Regions from separate parts of the Homo sapiens genome. Here region 1 is linked to region 2. The links are contacts of gene promoters, found by promoter capture Hi-C in human tissues and cell types (Jung and others, 2019). All regions are on one chromosome and are shown on one strand. Each heading gives the region's core, a stretch centred on a gene start or on the middle of the fragment in contact. The rest is flanking DNA. Distances are from core to core; before and after follow the strand shown. Region 1 overlaps FPGT-TNNI3K (FPGT-TNNI3K readthrough). Region 2 holds the start of LRRIQ3 (leucine rich repeats and IQ motif containing 3).

The links. The method cuts DNA at HindIII sites, captures the fragments that hold promoters and counts their contacts. A contact is called where the count stands out against the background at its distance.
Region 1: a contact is called between a fragment that was not itself captured here and the fragment with the promoter of LRRIQ3 in region 2, in 1 of the 25 tissues and cell types used here (dorsolateral prefrontal cortex).

What each region holds. Positions count from the first base shown.
Region 1 is chr1:74,484,640-74,488,286 of GRCh38, forward strand. All of the region lies in intron 23 of FPGT-TNNI3K (FPGT-TNNI3K readthrough), which reads left to right. The region is part of intron 21 of TNNI3K (TNNI3 interacting kinase); the gene reads left to right. The region is part of intron 1 of LRRC53 (leucine rich repeat containing 53); the gene reads right to left. Among named protein-coding and RNA genes, the nearest start is that of LRRC53, 26 kb to the right of the region's middle. The HindIII fragment of the contact is 3,211 bases long and covers 793-3,647 here.
Region 2 is chr1:74,196,438-74,200,190 of GRCh38, forward strand. LRRIQ3 (leucine rich repeats and IQ motif containing 3) reads right to left here and starts at 1,739. Exons shown (of 8, transcript NM_001105659.2): 1 at 1,559-1,739. FPGT-TNNI3K (FPGT-TNNI3K readthrough) reads left to right here and starts at 1,805. Exons shown (of 27, transcript NM_001112808.3): 1 at 1,805-1,923; 2 at 3,227-3,394. The coding sequence starts at 1,842. FPGT (fucose-1-phosphate guanylyltransferase) reads left to right here and starts at 1,805. Exons shown (of 4, transcript NM_003838.5): 1 at 1,805-1,923; 2 at 3,227-3,394. The coding sequence starts at 1,842. RefSeq lists a silencer at 1,643-1,742. The HindIII fragment of the contact is 10,329 bases long and covers 1-3,753 here.

The DNA.
Region 1 (3,647 bases), core at 1,148-3,647, 290 kb after region 2:
AGGATCCAATGCAAAGTTCTCAAGGGCATGAGGAGGTTGGTGTGATGACCAGAGTGGAGTGTGTAAGAGGAAGAGTAGGGCACAGAATCATAGGAGCAGGTTGTTGTATACCTTAGAGATGAATGCAAAGACATAGCGTTTTAACCCAAATAACATGGGAAGTAATTGGAGGCTATAGTGAGTGGCATTACTTGGTCTGATGTCTATTTTTAAAGATCATTTTAACTACTGAGTTGGGAACTACTTTTAGATAAGCAAAGAACATAAGTAGCAAAAATAGGAGGCAATTGTAGTAATACAAGGAAGGGATGATGTGGTGTAGAGAAGGATGAGAGGTAAGCATATTCCAGATGATTTTTTATCATAATGATGCAATTTAATTTAACAAATTTGAGCTCATTTAACCTGTCTGATGGAATGTGCTAGGTGTCTAAGAGTAAATAAACCATTGTATCAAAGAACTTTCTAGCTAGTGATAGACATGTAAATACCTATCTATAACACAAGGAGAAACGAAGTAAATCTAAATGCAAGTGAATAATTACTTTGTGGAATAACTTGGATGCTTTAAGAAGGATGTAGCTCTTGAGTTGGGCCTTGCAGAGTACAGTGAATTTCCATGGGCAGAGAATAAGCATTAGGTAATTCCAGTCTGAGAAAACAGTAAGAACAATGCCCTGCATGGGGCAGCAGATCTAATCTCAGTTCATTTATTTTAGTCCTACCTGGCCGGTTAGTCGGCCTCATGGATGTGTGGTTCAGGGGCAAACCAGAGATTGAGGTAGAATTTACACACAGACTCCAGGGCTTTTTCCAGGATCTCCTCTCATTCTCTACTGCGTATTTGTGATAAGCAGGATTCTAACATGACCTGCAAGATTCCTGTCCCCTGGTGTACATGCCATGTAGAATACCCTGTCCTTCAGTGTGGGCAGAACCTGTGAATATGATGAGATATTACTCCCATGATTATGTTTCATCATATGACTAAAGGAAGATTATCCCAAGTGGGTCTGACCTAACTGGGTGAGCCCTTCAAAAGCAGAATAAGTTTTACAGCTGGTCACAGAGTGGAAGTCAGGCATGTGCCCTTGCCGGTTAGGAAAAAAGCAAATAGCCATGTTGTGAACTGCCTATTTGGCAAGCAGCTGTAGGCATCCTCTAGAATTTGAGAGTCATTTCTGGGCAACAGATGGCAAGAAAACAGACATGTGTCATACAACCACAAAGAAATCAGTACTGCCAACAACCAATGCGCTTAAAAGAGGCCTTGAGCCTCAGATGAGAATCACAGTGCCTGCTGACTCCTTGATTTCAGCCTAGTGAAACTCTGAGCAAAGGACCCGGCTAATCTATACTGGACTCCTGACCAGTGGAAACTGAGATAAAAAATGAACATTGTTTTAAATCACTAGGTTTATGGTAATTTGTTATAAAACAATAACTAATACACTCCAGTTGCCCTGAATTCTGTCCTCTGTTCCTTCAAACAAGCAAACCATCAGAATTTTAATTGTTTCCTAAAATGCAGAAGTGGTCTACCCTCAGGCTAAATGCTATAAAGAGAGAGAGAGAGAGAGAGAGAGAGAGAGAGGTGGGAAATATACTAGTTCCTTTCTTCTAAGTGACTCACTCCCCTCCAGGATCTACTTGCTTTTATTAACTTTCCAGTGCCTTCAGGTAGCTGTCATTTACATTTTGTCCAGAGTTTCTCGTTGTTTTCTGTAGGAGGGTTGATCTAATATAAGCTACTTGATCATTCAGATACTGAATGGTAGTATCAATATAATTTGCTGGTATATAAGAGTAAAGTATGATAGAGTAGTCAAACATCATCACTTTTTTTGTGTGTGTTTTTTGTTTTTTGCTTTTTTTTTTTTTGCCTCTGCAAGCAGAAGGATGGAGTTTCCATTTACTGAAATGGGAAAGGCTATAAATATAATTAATTGCATGTATGAGTTTAGAGTTCAGGAGAAAGTACTGGGCTAGAGATAATAATCTGGAAGTTGTTTTTTAAAGACATAAGACTGAATTAACTCCTCAACAAATTAATTTTAAAGGGTAAAGAGACTCAAAGACTGAGTCTTGGGGCAATAAAAAGCTTAAAGATAAGGAGGAGAGATGAAACCAAAAGAGGAGACTAAGAAGAAGCCAATGAGCGCAGAAAAAAATAAAATAAGAAAATGGTGTCCTCAAAGCCAATTGAAAAACATGTTTCAGGGACAAAGGAATTGTTGCTTATATTTAATGCTATGCCAAGTGAAATGACCACTGAGATGTAACCATTGAATTTAGCAATGAGATCTTTGTAACCTTGACAAGGGCAGTTTCAGCAGTGTTGTAGGAGAAAGCTTGATTAGGATGGATTGCAAATGGGAGAAGGGGAATTAGAGACCGCAAATTTGGATAACTCTAGAACAATTTTGCTGTAAAGTAAACAGCAATGGAACAGTAGCTTGAAGGAGGACGTTAAGGGTTTTATTTTGCTGTTTGTTTTTAAGATAGGAGAATGTATAGTATGTCTGTATGCTGGTGGAGATTAAACAATACAGAAGGAACATGAACGATGCAAAAAAAAATGGATGAGAGAATTATTGCTGGAGCACACAAGTGAAGGAGTTGGCCTGAGAATCAGGCAAATTTCATCCACAGAAACAAAAGTGAGGGCAAATTATGTAGGTCATAGGTGAGTAGGTCAATGTAGTAGTGGGAGCTAGAGGTTTAGGAGAGAGGAAAAGGTACAAAATAGCCATCCGAAGTGTGAGAGAGTGAATGGACTAGAAATATGTAATAGGCTCTCTGAATAGTACTGACGGTCCATGGGAGATTAGAGGGTCAAGATTTTGAAGTGAGACCAGGCAGAATGGATTCAATAAAGTTTAGGATTCTTTCAGTACTGTACCAAATGCAAGATGAAGCAAGGGAGTTGAGGATGTGTGGAAGGGAGTGATAGTTGGAAGTGAATCTAATGATAAATGTAAATGAAATATAAGGTAAAGGGAAAGTGAGTGACAGCGAAAAGATGATGAAGTGAGCAAAAAAACAAGTAGGGAAAAAGATAGGCAGATGGGTAGGTAGGTAGAAAGAAGAGCATCTACTTTAGGACATATTTGGAACTGCTCGTAATAAAAAGCTCTTGTTTTATTTTGTTTTGTTTTAAGTGGTAAAATGGCTTCCAAGTACCAGTGTGATCAAAGCTTGTTGGAGTCAGGTTTCTAGAGGAAGTGAGGTAGAGAGAAAGGGACAGCTCAGAGAGTTGTCTGATAAAGATTGAGAGGTTAAAGAGCATGGAGGGGTGGAGGCATTGGTCATGACAGGGTCTAGGGTATAACTAAGGGGCTGAGTGACTAAAGGAGTTTGGAGGACAAGCTCATTGGAGAAGAGTAGGCAAAGGAACCCAGAGGTCAGGCTATTTTAATGATCATTTGCATGGATAATAAAAGTACAAAGAGTAGTGTTAGAGAGTATGAAGTAAGCCAGTTTTTAAAATCCCCAAAGAATGAGGGGGTGTGGCTAGACTCTGGTGGTATAGCCTGACAAGCTGGTGGTGTTTAGAGGAGAAACCATTTGGAAGTAGCAGTGACAGCAAGGAAGACACAGGGTTTTGCTCACTCCACTGCTCCCACTGCTCCCACTGCCCCCACCAA
Region 2 (3,753 bases), core at 489-2,988:
CCAAAATTGTATCTCTAGCCCAGACCTCTCTCCTGAATTCTAGACTCGTATGTATAATGCATACAGACACATACACACACAAACTTCCATTACATATTCACTGCATACACATGTCTCTTTATTCCACATGTCCAAAATCAAATTCTGGACCCTATTACCCCAAAAACCTTCCTCAGTCGGAAACTTACCCATCTTAATTGATGGCCAATCCATCCCAAGGCAGTCATTTTGACTCCTCTTTTTCTCTTACAGTCCACACCCATTAATTCCATCAGCACATTTTATTGTTTTTGTCTTAAAAATATATCCAGAATCTGACCAACTTCTCACCATTCCCACTGCTACCATCCTGGTCAAGCCTTCACCAGCTCTCACCTGCAATATTGCAGTAACCTCCAAAGAAGTCTCCCTGCTTCTATCATTGCCTCATCCCCCATTATAATCTATTCTCCTATCTCCGAGTGATCTCTTTAAACATAAGCCAAGTCACTTCAAAACCCTGCAATGGCTTTGTTTCCCTCAAGAGTAAAAACCAAAATTCTTCCTATGGCCCTTTGTTCTCTCTCTGACCTTCTCTCGCTACTTTCTCCTTTGGTTACTTTCACTCAAGTCTCTGTATTTTCTAAATGTTCTTCAATAAGATACTGTTTTTTTAATTAATGAAGTTTTAAATGTAAAACTATGAAAGAGTAATCTAATCTGCCATTTTATCCAAATGTTTCCACTATTAGAACACGATTGTATAACAAGTCTGAGAAGAAAAACTAAGTAAATTTATGACAAGAGTTTATGGTGCCCTGAATGTCTACGTACCTAATGAAGACGTTGATACAGAGAAATCGTCTCAAAAAATCAAACGGTATGGTGAAATACCACAAGTTCTGGGTTTGGGATTGAAATATATTTCTTAAATCTTTTATTACTTACTAATTGTGATACCTTGACTAACTCACTATTCTCTGATTCAGTTTTCTTCTGTGTAAAGATGAAGTGGTCTGTAAAACCAAGAAACCTCGTGTTCTATAACAGGAACACCTTTATATAGCTACCCAAAAAAACACCTAAAAAGGCTGACTTATTCCTAAGAGTGTTATTGAACATTCTAGATTAATCTGCATATACAAAAGAATGCCAGAGAAGAAACCAAAATACCAAAAATATTTGGAGCCTGGTTGCGGACTGAATTTTATACAACTTTCAAAGACACTATTTGAGAGGCTGTCGTGTGTAGCCTACTAAGAAAAAACAGAGGGGTGGGGTGGCTCACTCTCTAGGAACCACAAACTTAAGGTTCCTAGAAAGAGCAGAGATTTTAAATATTCAGACTGTGTATGTATCATGACCCAGGGTTGGGGGCAGATGGCCCGGGGTGGCGGGGGAAAGGAGAGATGGCGGAGATCTTCTATCAGGCTATCCTGGGGAACTGCTCCAGGCTGAAACAAACCACCAGTTAGGACGAACCGCCTTTGATGTGAAAGCTGGGAAGCTAGAATGTAGTTTCGCCTTATCCTTAGCGGGTCGGTTCTAACAATTTTGTCACCCAAACTGAACCACTCACCGGGTCAACTGGGCTGCAAGCCCTTATGAGTTGGAGACAAGTGGCCCAGCCCCAACACAGTCAGACAAATCGCTGGGCGGCCATCTGCTCCTGAGACCGTTGCTAGAGAAACAAGACAACATCCAAGTTCTCCACATCATGGTTTTCCGGGCGCCAGCCAAGGCGCTCCGGGGGCGTGGTTACGTGGGCGACGCACGGAGGGGGCGGGTCAGAAACAACCGGGCGGAGGCGCACCCCAGGGCGCATGCGTGCTGTGCGGCGCGGTCTCAGGGAAGGTGGGGCTATGGCAGCTGCTAGGGACCCTCCGGAAGTATCGCTGCGAGAAGCCACCCAGCGAAAATTGCGGAGGTTTTCCGAGCTAAGAGGTACCAGAGAAGGCACCGGAGTTCTCCTGGGCAATGCAGAGGGAGGGTGCTTTTACGTGCCAGGAGGTTTGCTGGACTGTCACTTCCCGTTTACTTCTCATCTGTAGGCCTATGACGCTCCCCAGGAGTAGCTAGCTAATAATCCTTTTGAGTTTTTTATTCTTTTCACTGTCCCTGCTTGACATGCTTGTTGCTTACTTTATTCTTAGTAGTATAGATATTAAAAATGAGGGCGGAGGAAGAAGAAGAAAATCTTACTAGTGAAGTTATGCATTGATTAGCTCATTAATAAAAGTTGCTTTAAATAAATCTAAAAGATACGAAGCACAGTATTTTGAACTTTATGAGTAGATGCCAGCCCCCTATCTACTTCACGCTTTACATTACGTTCATCTACTTCTGTAATGTAACCGTTTGTTGAGGGAGTAACAGAACATGGAGGAATTATGGATTAAAAATTAAAAGGAAGAAATTTGTTATCAAAAAATTGGCTATGACACTTAATCCCTGTACACCTGTCTAATAAAAGTGATTATATTTGTGTTGCAGTGACTGCTTAAAAAATACTGGGACTAATTCTTGGATAACAGTAAAACTTTCAGGACTATTAGATTCTAGCTGACAAGTTCTGTTTGTTAACTAATTAAAATGCTAAATCATTTTGTTTATCAATAAAGAGATTCCAACTGTCTACTAAAAGTGCACACTGTCTTTTAAAGATGTCATCAGAGAGTTGGGACCTTCTGTTATCCAGAATTTTATGTTATATTCTAACAGCCTATGTAAGTTTGCATGGTTCATCTTAAAGTAATAGAAAATAAAGTACCCACATTTATAAACAGCAACATTGAGGGAAGGGATCTTTGGGTTGTGTCTTTCTTAGTCACCTAACACCAAGTGTCCGTGATACATAAGAATTGATTTGCAAAGCTGGAGATTTGTTTATGTTTATCTCCTCTTCTTATTGAAGAATTGAGGCAATAGTCTTTGGCAAGTTAAAAGTCGCTCTCTTAATCAAGAAACATTATGTCATTCAGAATTTATAATTAAATTGGATTGCAAACCATAAAAGGAGGGAGTGATCTAAAAGAAAAAAAAGGAACTTGTGAACAGTCTTCATTATAACTATTTTGAATCGTATTAATGCACCACTAATTATTCCCTAACTTTCAAAAGCCAAAGATACATTTTGGAAGATGATAATGGATATTACCTTCTTTATCATCTTTCTCAATAGGCAAACCTGTGGCAACTAGAAAATTCTGATAATTTTTGTTTTCATTTCCTTGCTTTTTCCAAATAGGCAAACTTGTAGCACGTGGAGAATTCTGGGACATAGTTGCAATAACAGCGGCTGATGAAAAACAGGAACTTGCTTACAACCAACAGCTGTCAGAAAAGCTGAAAAGAAAGGAGTTACCCCTTGGAGTTCAATATCACGTTTTTGTGGATCCTGCTGGAGCCAAAATTGGTACGCGCTTTATGGTCAGTTTTATAATATAGGTCCTAAGCAGAATAATCATTGAAGAAAAGGTTTCTGTGACTTACAGTGTATAAGCTGCATATCTCTACCCACAGCTTTACAAACTTTAAAATTTGAACATAAATTGACTTTTTTTAGAAAGATAAAAGGAATAGCAACTGTTCTTACCCATTATGACTTACCTTGAAAAACTTCCAGAATGTTACTTAAAAGAAAATTTTATTAGTTTTAATGAAATTCACACTATTCAGATAGGAATACTCCTTTGGACCTTATCAGTAGAACCCTTGAGGTCCTCTCCACTCCAGAGTTCCTCCAGCAATTTACATGAAGAAAGCAATTAGTGG